2 separate regions of the Homo sapiens genome follow, and region 2 is linked to region 1. The links are contacts of gene promoters, found by promoter capture Hi-C in human tissues and cell types (Jung and others, 2019). All regions are on one chromosome and are shown on one strand. Each heading gives the region's core, a stretch centred on a gene start or on the middle of the fragment in contact. The rest is flanking DNA. Distances are from core to core; before and after follow the strand shown. Region 1 holds the start of SLC5A4 (solute carrier family 5 member 4). Region 2 overlaps SYN3 (synapsin III).

Evidence for each region. The method cuts DNA at HindIII sites, captures the fragments that hold promoters and counts their contacts. A contact is called where the count stands out against the background at its distance.
Region 2: a fragment that was not itself captured here is called in contact with the fragment with the promoter of SLC5A4 in region 1 in 1 of the 25 tissues and cell types used here (lymphoblastoid cells).

What each region holds. Positions count from the first base shown.
Region 1 is chr22:32,252,337-32,259,081 of GRCh38, reverse strand. SLC5A4 (solute carrier family 5 member 4) reads left to right here and starts at 3,735. Exons shown (of 15, transcript NM_014227.3): 1 at 3,735-3,887; 2 at 4,869-4,940. The coding sequence starts at 3,753. All of the region lies in intron 2 of SLC5A4-AS1 (SLC5A4 antisense RNA 1), which reads right to left. The HindIII fragment of the contact is 10,747 bases long and covers 95-6,745 here.
Region 2 is chr22:32,662,002-32,668,746 of GRCh38, reverse strand. The region is part of intron 6 of SYN3 (synapsin III); the gene reads left to right. LOC105373002 (a long non-coding RNA gene) reads right to left here. Exons shown (of 4, transcript XR_938176.4): 4 at 4,181-6,745. Among named protein-coding and RNA genes, the nearest start is that of SYN3-AS1, 90 kb to the right of the region's middle. RefSeq lists an enhancer at 6,620-6,745. The HindIII fragment of the contact is 5,159 bases long and covers 1,228-6,386 here.

The sequences.
Region 1 (6,745 bases), core at 2,486-4,985:
CATTTACCTCCCCACATGCTCACTGGCAACTACCATTCCACTCACGAATTCTATGTATTTGACCATTTGGGGTACCTCATATAAGTGGAATTACGCAATATTTGACCTCCTGTGACAGGTTATTTCACTGAGCATAATGTCCTCAAGGTTCATGCACATTGTTGCATATTGTAGAATATTCTGCCTTTCAAAGGCTGAATAATATTCCATGGATGCATATACCACATAGTCTTTATCCATGCATCCACTGATGGACATTAGGTTGTTTCTGTATCTTTTGTGAATAGTACTTATGAACATGGGTGTGCAGATATATCTTTTTGCGATGCCAATTTCAATTTTTTTGGATACATGCCCAGAAATGGAATTGCTAGATCACTTGCAATTTTTAACTTTTTGAAGAAGCTTCATACCGTTTTCCATAGGAGCTGCACCATTTTGCACCCTCAACAACAGTGTACAAGGGTTCCAATTTCTCCACATCCTTGATACTTGTCTTTTTTTTCTTTTTTTTATAATAGCTATCCTGACAGGTGTGAGGGGATATTTCATACTGGTTTTGATCTGCATTTTCCCGACGATTAGTGACGTTGAACAATTTTTCATATACCTCTTGGCTATTGGTTTGTGTTTTTTTGAGAAATGTCTAAGTCTTTAGCCCATTTTAATTGGCTTATTAGTTTTTTTGTTTTTGCCATTGAGTTGTGGGGGGTTATTTTATATTTTGGAATCAACCATACTTCCTCTATTCAACATAGCATTGGAAGTCCCAGCCAGAATAAGTGGGTAAGAAATAGAAATAATTAAAAGGCATTCTAATTGGAAAAGAAGTAAGATCATCTCTATTCACAGATGACATGAGATCAGGAGTTCAGGACCAGCCTGGCCAACATGACACAACCCCATCTCCACTAAAAATACAAAAATTAGCTGGAAATGGTGGTGCATGCCTGTAATCCCAGCAACTCGGGAGGCTGAGGCAGGAGAAGAATCACTTGAACCTGCGAGGTGGGGGCTGCAGTGAGTGGAGATTGTACCACCACCCTCCAGCCTGGGCAACAGAGCAAGACTCTGTCTCACAAATAAAATAAAGAATACATAAAGAAAACCTTAGCTGGGCGAGGTGGCTCACACCTGTAATCCCAGCACTTTGGGAGGCCAAGGCGGGAGAATTACCTGCGGTCAGGAGTTCAAGACCAGCCTGGTCAATATGGTGAAACCCCATCCATCTCTGCTAAAAATACAAAAAATAGCCGGGCATGGTGGTGTGTTTCTGTAATCCCAGCTACTCGGGAGGCTGAGGCAGGAGAATCGCTTGAACCCAGGAAATGGAGGTTGCAGTGAGCCAAGATTGTGCCATTGCACTCCAGCCTGGGCAACAAGAGTGAAACTCTGTCTCAAAAAAAAAAATTAAAAAAAAAAGAAAACCTTGCTGGGTTCAGTGGCTCATGCCTGTAATCCCAGCACTTTGAGAGGCTGAGACAAGGAATTACTTGAGCCCAGGTGTTCAAGACCAGCCTGGACAACATGGTAAGACCCCCACCTCTAAAAAAATGAAGTTAGCCAGGCATGGGTGGCATGTGCCTGTGGTCCCAGCTATGGTGGAGGCTGAGATGGGAGGATCACTTGAGCCCAGGAGGTTGAGGCTGCACTGAGCCATGCTTACCTCACTGCACTCCAGCCTGGGTGACAGAATGAGACCCTGTCTCTGAGAAATAAAAAGGAAATTCTACAATTCAACAGCAACAAAAATACAACATAAGGCTATTCTGGGTACACTGCCAATGAGGTAGTCCTGCTCCACAAGGAGCAGTGTAAAAAAGAATACAACATAATTTTTAAATGGATGAAGAAGTTGAATATATCTCTCTCCAAGAAGATGCACAAATGGCTATAAGCACATGAAAAAATCAACACTACTAGTGATTGTGTTAGAAGTGTAAATCAAAACTATATTGTGATACCCACTTGATACCTACTAGCCTGTCTATAATTAAAACATAAATGACAAGTATTGAAGAGGATATGGAGAAATTAACTCTCCTATGCACTGTGGAAAGAATGTAAAATAGTGCAGCTGCTGTGAACAACAGTTTGGCAGTTCTACAAAAAGTTAAACACAGAATTATCACATGCAATTCCACTTCTACATATAGACTCAAAAGAATTGAAAGTAGGGATTCAAACAGATCCTTGCACACCAGTGTTCTCAGCAGCATTATTTATAATAGCCAAGTATAGAAAGAACCTGAATGCCCATCAACAGTTGAATGGATAAACAAAATGTGGTATATATGAGTATTGGAATATTATTCAGCCTTAAAAAGGAAGGAAATTCTGATACATGCTACAATATGGATGAACCTTGAAAATGTCATACTAAGTGAAATAAACCAAAGAGGAAAATATTGTATGATTTCATTTGTATGAGGTACCTAGAATAGGCAAATTTATATAGTAAGAAAGAATAACAGAGGTTACCAGGGCCTGGAGAGAGGGAGGGATGGGGAGTTAGTTTTTAGTGGGTACATACTTCTGTTTGGAGATGATGAAAAAGTTCTGGAAATGGATAGTGGTAATGGCTGCATAACACTGTAAATGTACTTAATGCCAATGAATTGTACACTTAAAAGGGATTAAAATGGTAAATTTTATGCTATGTATGCTTTGCCACAATAAAAAATGAAGTATAAAAGAAGAATTTCTGGGCTTTCCGTTTTTTCATGTGTGTTTTTGGTTTTGTTTTTTTGTTGTTGTTTTTTTTGTTTGTTTTTGAGACAGGATCTTGCTCAGTTGCCCAGGCTAGAGTGCAGCGGCGTGATCATGGCTCACTATAGCTTTGACCTCCCAGTCACAGGTGATCCTCCCTCTTCAGCCTCCCAAGTAGCTGGGACCATACGTGTGCATCACCACACTCAGCTAATTTTTATAGAGACAAAGACTCCCTATGTTGCCCAAGCTGGTCTTGAACTCCTGGCCTCAAGTGATGCTCTCTCCTTGGCCTCCCAAAGTGCTGGGATTACAGGTGTCAGCCACCGCATAGGCTTTACTTCTAACTTCTTCTTGGCTGTAGTCCAGGAGTCTTGTTTCCTGAGTCCTCATGATCCCCATCACATGCTTCCAGGTTGATTCACTCTTTGTACAACCCTCTGACCCAGCGCTCTCCACAGCTCTGCCCTCAACTCACCACATATGGTGCTTGAAGAGCCACTTCCTTTCCTATACAGGCCACCAATGTCTTTTTGTGGCACATGAAACCCACTTCAGAGAAATGTGGGACTTTGGAATCCACGAAAGGCATAATTCACTTCACTGTCAAGGGATATAGCTCATTGGTCAGAAACTGTATCTGTTCTCTGAAGGACCATTGCATTCGGTCCCTCCTGGCTGGTTTCTGGTACCTTCTAGTCTGTCCTTCTCCCCTCCTTGTCTGTCTTCATTTCTCTCAAATCCCCCCTCCACCTGGGCAAATCTCTTTAAAGACCCTGTCTTTGCACTCAGAGAACGCCCCATGCTCCACCTCAAATTCTCCCCTCATTTCTGGCCCTGCATCCCTCATTCTCACACTCTACCTAGGCTAGCACTCACTGGTGGAGGGCTGGGGTGCCACAGCTTTGGAGAAGAGGTTTAAAGGTCTCCATATCCAGGAGCTGGCTCTGATATCTCGCCCCACCTGCCTGAGGCTGATCATTAACCCAGAACTTATATAAAGATGGCTCATGCGTGGAATGGGTATAGCACTGCCTGCAGCCATGGCCAGTACGGTTAGCCCCAGCACCATAGCTGAGACCCCAGAGCCACCTCCATTGTCTGACCACATCCGAAATGCTGCTGACATCTCAGTCATTGTCATCTATTTTCTGGTGGTGATGGCTGTTGGGCTGTGGGTAGGTGGAATCCCAGTGGCTTTTAGGGTGGGCACAAGGTTTAGGAGGGGGTATCTTAAGGGGGGAAGGGGTGTGGTTGTGACAAAGCTTTTCACAAATGTCATTGTGTTATCAGAATCATTTTCTTGTGTGTTGCATAAATAACGCTTACAATGAACTAATGTATTCTCCTAATAACCCCATCGTGTGCACACAGCCAGCACCGGGACCTTCAGATTTACTATGCATCCCCAACACCTGGCATAATGGACAAAGAGTGTATTTTTATTATCGCATTTCTTTCGCTTTCTTTTGTTGTTTGCTCACTTTCTGATTTAGTGAGTTGGACTCTTCATTTATGTTGAATTTTTTTATTTTAATAAATTTGAGACTGCAAATTTTTTTTTTTTTTGAGACGGAGTCTTGCTCTGTCGTCCAGGCTGGAGTGCAGTGGCGCTTGCTTGGCTCACTGCAAGCTCCGCCTCCTGGGTTCACGCCATTCTCCTGCCTCAGCCTCCCAAGTAGCTGGGACTACAGGCATGCGCCACCACGCCCGGCTAACTTTTTGTATTTTTAGTAGAGACGGGGTTTCACCATGTTGGCCAGGATGGTCTCGATCTCTTGACCTTGTGATCCACCCGCCTCGGCCCTCCAAAGTGCTGGAATTACAGGCGTGAGCCACCGTGCCCGGCCGAGACTGCAAATTTTATTGCAAGCATGGCTCAATGATACCTCACATGGTTTTCATAAGTGAGAATAATCAGAGCAGTTAAGATAGAAGTTAAGGATTATGATTTTTTTAAGTTCTTCCAGCCCTGGGTTTTTACAAAGCGACTGTTTTTGAAGTCCTTTAAAATTTGATGCTATAGAACACTTTCCAGCGAAATGTTTCTCTCTGTAGGAGTGCTGAAGTCACCCCTCTCAGCACCCTGGCCAGAGCCTCTGGGGTGTCTGGGTGCACTTGCTGGGGCTTGACCCTCACCTGTCTTCCCTTCTGCTCAGGCGATGCTGAAGACCAACCGAGGTACTATAGGAGGCTTCTTCCTCGCTGGTCGTGATATGGCCTGGTGGCCGGTAAGTGGATCGAAGTTTTCTGGAGATAAATTTCCTGTGTGTGTGCTTAAAACTGAATGTAGGCTGGGTGCGGTGTCTCACGCCTGTAATCCCAGCACTTTGGGAGGCCAAGGCTGGCAGATCATCTGAGGTCAGGAGTTCGAGACCAGCCTGACTAACATGGTGAAACCATCTCTACTAAAAATACAAAAATTAGCTGGACGTGGTGGTGTGTATGCCTGTAATCCCAGCTACTCAGGAGGCTGAGGCAGGATAATCACTTGAACCTGGGAGGCAGAGGTTGCAGTGAGCCTAGATCACACCACTGCACTCCAGCCTGGGCAACAAGAATGAAACTCCATCTCAAAAAAAAAAAAGTGAATGTAGACAACATTGGGAATGTTGATCATTTCTGATGTACATTGGTTGCCTACTCGCTGGGGCTCCTTTCCTAAATCCCCGACTTCATGGCTCCTCTCTGTAATTCCAGGACATTACAATATGTCACCTATTATGACAGCCGGTTCAGTCTGGCACTGAAGGACCCCAGCTCAGCCCCACCTTATATTCTTTTCTTCTGCTCCTTATCAAGAGTCTTCTCCTGGCTTCTTACAAGCTCTGCGCATTCCTGCTTTGTTGCCAGTCCTGAGCTGATGCTGGCCCTCTTGTTAGGATTGGCCTCCCCTTGTCTGCTGTCCTCTTTCAATGCCTCACCTCAGCCCTTTCTCATCTGAGGAGCCTCCCGGCTCTCTCCATGGGTCCCTATGTCCCATGCAGTTATTGGTTGTGTTCCCTGTGATGGTGCTAATGCTGATGCCTCTTGATTCTTGCCCAGTGGGTGTTCTTGTGGGGTTTTGATGTGTGACCCCCTCAGCCAGGGTCCCACTGCAGCAGAGGCTGTATCTTCCCCTCTGCACCTGGAGAGTGTCAGCCCAGCATCACATTATACAGTGGGTGCTTAGCAAATGCTTCCTTCACAGATCTGACTCATTTTCTAAATGGTATGAGGGGAAGTGGAGATGGGCAACTGTCCTGGCTGGGGTGACTGAAGCAGAACAACTGGAAGTTTGAAATGAATTTTATTTGGGACATCCAATCAGACATTGCATTTTTAGGACTGTTTAGTGAAACATGCAAGGAGGCTCAAGCGATCTTGAAGCCAAAAACCAGCTCAATCCCATCCTCTGGCCCCATGTAGCTGAGCAGAAAAAGTGATTTTACAGAGGCCTTAAAAAGTGGGAAGAGCCACACCCCAATTCTCTTCTGCTAGGACTGGTGCTCATCTACGTCCACTCAAGAGACCTCTCTTGGTCTCTGGGTCTTTAGAACAGCAGACACTGTAATGGCGAGGGGATGAATGAAAAGAGTGTCCTGTGGCTGGGAGGATGGAGAGAAACTCCCTCCTAGCCAGCTTGGGGTCTTTGCATATGATTAAAGGGAGAAGAGCTGATGGGAGATCTGGCAGTGCTTGGCCAAGGACAGGCTCAACTCAGAGCATTTTAGTAGATTGACCAATGCTCCCCCAAGACAGGGGCCAACGAGCTTTTCTGTAAAAGGCCAGATTGTAAATACTTTAGAGTTTTCTAGACATATAGTCTATTGCAGCCACAGAACCCCGCTGTTGTAGGACAAAAAGCAGCCCAAGTCCATATGGAAAACCAATGAGCACGGCTGTGTTCCAGACAATGAAATTTGAATCATACAATTTCACAAGTTTACAATTTCACATTTCACAAAATATTATGCTTACTTAGATTGTTTACCATTATTTAACAATGCAAAAATGTAAAAAAACATTCTTGGCTCGTGGGCCATTCAGAAACTGA
Region 2 (6,745 bases), core at 2,558-5,057, 410 kb before region 1:
CCCTGCCCTCATCCCCAGATAGACTCACTGGAAGCATTTTTGTGTAGCATGCATTACATTTGGGCAGCCCTAATTCCATGCTGTTTGTCCCTTTACATCAGTTCTGCAATGGGATTGCTGGCTCCTTGAAATACCTGCAGCTTCCAACAACAACAACAAAGGAAGAAGGGAAGGCAGGAGTGGAGGAAGGAGGAGGAAGGAAGAGGGGAAGGAGAAGGAGAAGGAGAAAGGAAGGAAAGGAGTGAAGGGAGGAGGGAGGGGGAAATGAGGGAAGTGAGGAGAAACAAAACTGATTGTCATTTTCACTGAAAAGTTAATAACAATGTAACAATTTCTCATCCACAGGAAGAGGGGAAAGAGAAGGGGAAAGGAGTGAAGGAAGGGGGGGTGGAAATGAGGGAAGTGAGGAGAAACAAAACCGATTGTCATTTTCATTGAAAAGATAATTATGTAACAATTTCTCATCCACAGTTTCTTTTAACACTTCTAAACAATTGATTACTTTTAAAGTAAAACCTAATTTACACTCTTCATGTATACTTTCTACTTCTGCATCTATGAGGTGATTTTTCAAACATTTATATCACTCCTTGTGGTAAAAGTGTCCTTGTATACAATTCAAACACTGTGAAGGAGCATAAAGTAAAGAACAACCAAGCTGGGCACGGTGGCTCACACCTGTAATCCCAGCACTTTGGGAGGCTGAGTCAGGCGGATCAGGTCAGGAGATGGAGACCATCCTGGCTAACAGGGTGAAACCCCGTCTCTACTAAAAATACAAAAAAATTAGCTGGGCACGGTGGTAGGCACCTGTAGTCCCAGCTACTCGGGAGGCTGAGGCAAGAGAATGGCATGAACCCGGGCGGACTTGCAGTGGGCAGAGATGGCGCCACTGCATTCCAGCCTGGGCGACAGAGCGACACTCCGTCTCAAAAAAAAAAAAAAAAAGAAAGAAAGAAAGAAAAGTGATCTCCTCTTGGAAGCCTTCCCCGATCCTCTTCTTTCCCGACCTTGACTGACTGACTTTTCCAAAAACCTAAGCGAAATGCAGAAGGAGAGCTCTCTTATATGATGCCTTATGGAGATAAAAATGAACACATACTAAAGTATACAGTGGTATGGATTTGGAAGGCAACCCAGCAATTTAGCAAATAAAAATGTGCATCCCCTTTGACCCAGCAACCCACTTTAAGGAACTTGACCTACCCAAAAACCTAAGCAAGTGCGCAAAGACGGTGTGCCAAGACTTTGCAATACTTTTGTGTGATCAGCAGGGACTGGTTTAATAAACTTTAGTACTATAGGCTACTCCATGCTGATAGAAAAATATGTCAAGATATTTGTCATCTTGAAAAAAACTAAGTGTCAAATGATATACATAGTATGATCCCTTCAGTCTTACAGAAAGCATGATGGAAGGAAAGAGAGAATAAAGAAAGGGGAAAAGGGAGGGAGGGAAGGAGGAAGGAATGAAAGAAGGAAGCAAGGGAGGAAGGGAGTGAGTGAGTGAGGAAGAAGGAATGGAGAAGAAAGAAAGGGAGGAAAGGAGTGAGCGAGTGAGGGAGAAGGAATGAAAGAAGGAAGGAAGGAAGGGAGGAAGGAAGGAAGAGAGATTGTATGTTACCCTGAGATTTGGTTCTAAAGTCTGTGAATAAAACAAAAAGGGGCATAATTTAGCAGGGTTTCACTGTGTTAGCCAGGATGGTCTTGATCTCCTGACCTTGTGTTCCGTGAGGAGATCACTTTTCAACCAGACCTTGAAGGATGGCATGGTATTCAGAGAAACAGACAAAGGACATTCCAGGTAGAGGCTGGAATATGGAGTCAAAGACATTCATGGAGCTTGGTCGAGGTGGGGAGGTGGTTCATTATTCCTTGGTAAATCCTTGGCCATCACGTTACCTAGACCACAGCCCACCGCAAGGCAGGCTTAGATATTTGAACAAAATACATCAAGACAGACAAATAAGCAATTACATTCCAACAGGGGGAAACAGACAATGAACAGAAAATAAAGTCAACTGGATGGCATGTTAGATGGAGATAAGTGTTATGGGGAATAAAAATCAGGGATGGGAGATGGGGAATGTGCATGGGGAGCAGAAGGGGCCACCGTGTTAAACAAGGTGACCAGAGAAGGCCTCATGAGAGGGGTTACATCTGATAATGACCCATAGCAGGTGAAGGAAGGAGCCTTCCAGATTCCTGGGGAAAGAGCATTCCAGGGAGAGGGCCAGCAAGGACGAAGGGCCTGAGGTGGGAGAGTCCTCAGTGAGTTGGAGAAAGAGCAAGGTGGCCACATGGCCAGAGCAGAGTGAGAGAGGGGACAAAGGGGACAAGAGAGCTGAAGTCCTAAGGCCCTGGTGCTGAATGCCTGAAGGTGTCAGGCTCTGTGGCTTGTTTGGATTGTTTGGTTTGGGTTATTCTTTAGAGTAAGATGAGAAACTATTGAGAGGTTTTGAATAGAGGAGTGACACACTCCGACATGTGGTTCAAGGAGACCCTTCTGGGTAAAAGAGAGATGAGGACCAAAATGAGACCAATTCAAAGATTACTGGCATAATGCAGGTGATTTGGGCCAAGGTGAAGCAGTAATGGTGGAGGAAAATGACCATATTCTGAATGTATTTTGAAGGTAGAGGCTTTAGGATTTGCTCATGGATTGGGTGTGAGGTGTGAAAGATGAGAAAGCATCGAGAGAGCCGCAGGGTTTTGACCTGATGCTGCCATTAACTGAAGTAGGACTTAGTTTGGAGCTGGGGGAGAGATTCAAGGGCTCAGTTACAGATATAGTGTGTGATTTCGTTGGACATCAGAGTGCAGATGTCAAGAAAGCAGTTAGACATGTTAGAACAAATTCAGGGAGAGGTCAGGGCTAGAAGTATAAACAGATGAGTAATCAGCATATAGATAGTGTTAAGAGTCATTAGGCTACATGAGGTTACTAAAGGAATGAGTATGGACAGAAAAAGAGAAAAGGTCTGAGAGCTGACCCCTGAGACACTTCACTGATACAAAGTCAGGAAGGTAGAGGGGAATCTGTGATGGCGACTAAGGGAGGGCAGCCAGCAAGGTAGGAGGTTGGGTCCTAAAGGCCAAAACACACAAGTGTTTGACAGAAGAGCGCGTGATTAAATTCTGCTGCTAAAAATTCGCGATTGCAAAAATATGGAACCAGCCCAAATGCCTATTAATCAATGAAATTAATGGATAAAAATCTGTGATATATGTGAGACATATATATATATATATATATACACACACTGTGGCATACTACTCAGCCATAAGAAGGAATAAAATAATGGTATTTGCACCAACCTGGATGGAATTGGAAACCATTATTCTAAATGAAGTAACTCAGGAATAGAAAACCAAACATCATATGTTCCTCACTCATCAGTAGGAGCTAGGCTATGAGGATGCCAAGGCATAATAAGGAGGATACAATGGGCCAGGTGTGGTGGCTCACACCTGTAATCCTAGTACTTTGGGAGGCCAAGGTGGGTGGATCACCTGAGGCCAGGAGTTCAAGACCAGCCTGGCCAACATGGCAAAACCCTGTCTCTATTAAAAATACAAAAATTAGCTAGGCGTGGTGGAACATGCCTGTAGTCCCAGGTATGTGGGAGGCTGAGACATGAGAATCCCTTGAACCAGGAGGCAGAGGTTGTGGTGAGCCGGGATGGCACCACTGCACTCTAACCTGGGTGACAGAACAGGCTCTGCCCCAAAAAAAAAAAAAAAAAAAAAAAAAAGAATTATACATTATACAATGGACTTTGGGGATTCGGGAGGAAAGGGTGGGAGGGGTTGAGGGATAAAAGACTACAAATTAGGCTGGGTGCAGTGGTTCACGCCTGTAATCCCAGCACTTTGGGAGGTGGAGGCGGGCAGATTGGGAGGCCGAGGCGGGCAGATTATGAGGTTAGGAGATCGAGACCATCCTGGCTAACACAGTGAAACCCTGTCTCTACTAAAAACACAAAAAATTAGCCGGGCTTGGCGGCGGGCGCATGTAGTCCCAGCTACAAGGGAGGCTGAGGCAGGAGAATGGCATGAACCCAGGAGGCGGAGCTTGCAGTGAGCCGAGATCGCACCACTGCACTCCAGCCTGGGCGACAGAGCGAGACTCTGTCAAAAAAAAAAAAAAAAAAAAAAAAAAGCGACCAATTGAGTACAGTGTATGCTGCTCGAGTGACAGGTGCACCAAAATCTCAGATATCACCACTAAAGGACTCATTCATGTAACCAGACACCTCCTGTTCCCCAAAAACCTATGGAAATAAAAAATAATAAATAAATAAATAAATGCTGCTGTTAGGTCAAGAAAGACAAGGACTAAAACACCGACCACTAGATTTTCCCCTGAAAACTATTTATTACTTTTAACCAAGTGCTGGCCAAGTCTCCCTGGCCTTGGATGGAAGGCATATCAATTGCACATCATCAGCCAAGTACTGATTGGATGGTTTCAATTGCAAAGGGGAAATCTTATCTCCAAGTCATAAGGTGGGATTTCTGACAGAAGGAAGAGCACACATTAGGTGAAGAATGCTAGACTAGGAAGGAATGGAGTCAGATGGCATGGGCACCAGTCTTGGTTTATCTACTTGCTCCCTGTGTGACCTTAAGACTCCCTGTAGCTCTTACCATCTTCACATACAATATGATGGGTGGTGAGCAGAGCAGGGTTCTCTGAGAGACTTTTCATAGTCTCTTCTCAAGTCTAAAATTCAAAGACATTTCCCTATCTTAGTCAGGGATGGCTACATAATTTGCAGGATCCCTTTTTCAAAATGTGCAGTGTGGGGGGGGAATGCTGTTAAAGATACTAAATATAAAGCTTTTTCTTTCCTTCCACTATCTCTCTCTTGACTTGTCATAATGCTGTTTTAATTGCTATTTAATATCATTCTAGGTAAAATAAATAAATGAAATTTTACATTATTCACGTGGATTTTACCATTTACTTTTACATTGTGCAATGCAAAATTTTAAATGCAAATATGAAAACATTGAACTCATAAGCAGAATCAATAAAATTACACAATTCATATTTCATAGTTCCTACATGCTGTATTAGTCAGTTCCCACACTGCTAATAAAGACATACCCGAGACTGGGTAACTTATAAAGAAAAAGAGGTTTAGGCTGGGCGTGGTGGCTCATGCCTGTAATCCCAGCACTTTGGGAGGCCGAGGCAGGTGGATCACGAGGTCAGGAGATCGAGACCATGCTGGCTAACACGGTGAAACCCCGTCTCTACTAAAAATACAAAAAATTAGCCGGGCGTGGTGGTGGGTGCCTATACTCCCAGCTATTCGGGCGGCTGAGGCAGGAGAATGGCGTGAACCCGGGAGGCGGAGCTTGCAGTGAGCCAAGATGGCGCCACTGCACTCCAGCCTGGGCGACAGAGTGAGACTCAAAAAAAAAAAAAAAGAGAAGAAAAGAAAAGAAAAACAAGTTGAATGGGCTTACAGTTTCACATGGCTGGGGAGGCCTCACAATCATGGCAGAAGGCGAAAGGCACGTCTTACATGGCGGCAGCAAGAGAAAATGAGAGCCAAGCGAAAGGGGTTTCCTCTTACACAACCATGCTACACAAAACTAACTCAACTGTTTTTATTTCACTTCTGGATGCACACACATTCTTCCAACCCCCTCTACTTGAGGCTTACTGTTGAGTAAGTAAGGACTAAAAGAAAAGTGAACTATGAATTGGCCTACCTTTTTCTTTTTTTCTGTGTCATCATATTCAGTATAAATTATTGGCTAGTAAGAAGGAACATGAGGGAATCTCTTGGTTGGTTGTTTGCTTTTCTCAGAAAGTGATTGTCTTCCTCATCTGTAAAATGGGGATACTTTGTAAGGCAATTTTAAAACAGAAAATTCATCTATCCACTCATGTAATTCTATACCACGCACAGTGCTTGGAACACATATGTGGTCAGTAAATATTTTAAGTGCTAAGAATTCAGTGTGGCTCAAGTTGGGAGGATGCTGAGGTACATAATAAAAATAACAGCTCAGCAGTAATTGAGTATTTATTATGTGCCAGGCATTGTGTTAATGCTATTGTATTAACTCATTTCCTCTTAATGACAGCCTTATGAAGTAGGTATTTTTATTACCCCCATTTTACAGATGAGGAACTTGGAAAGGTCAGTAACTTGGCCAAAGACCCGTAGCCAGTTAAGTGGCATATCTGGGAGTCAGGCCCAGGTCAATAAGATGCCAAAGCATGTGCTTTGGAACACTGACTATATTGGTCCCATAGTTACTTGGTAATAAAATCAAAGTAGTCAAAGAGCTATGGAGGGAAATGATGAGTTCCATCTGGGGAATCCAAGAAAGGCACTGAGAAGGCAGCTGTATGTACACGTCTGTAGCTCAGGAATGATGAACAGACTATAGATAAGATTTGGGAGTCCTCAGCTGAATGATAGCCACTGAAACCGTGAACATGGATATGAGTTAAGATAAGACAGCCCTATAGAACTAAGGCATCTGAGAGCCAAGGGAGGAGAAAAGAATGCCGAAAAGGAGACGTTGCAGAGGTAGGAGTGGATGCATAGGGGGAATACCTGGAAACCTGTGGACATTAATTCACATGCTACAGAGATGACCAATCAGATGACAACTGCAAAAAGACCTTTAGATTTTGCACGTGTCCCCACAGATGACTCCGGGTAAAACAGACTCCCTAGACTGGTAGATAAGGGGAAAGGGACAATGGAGAGATTTA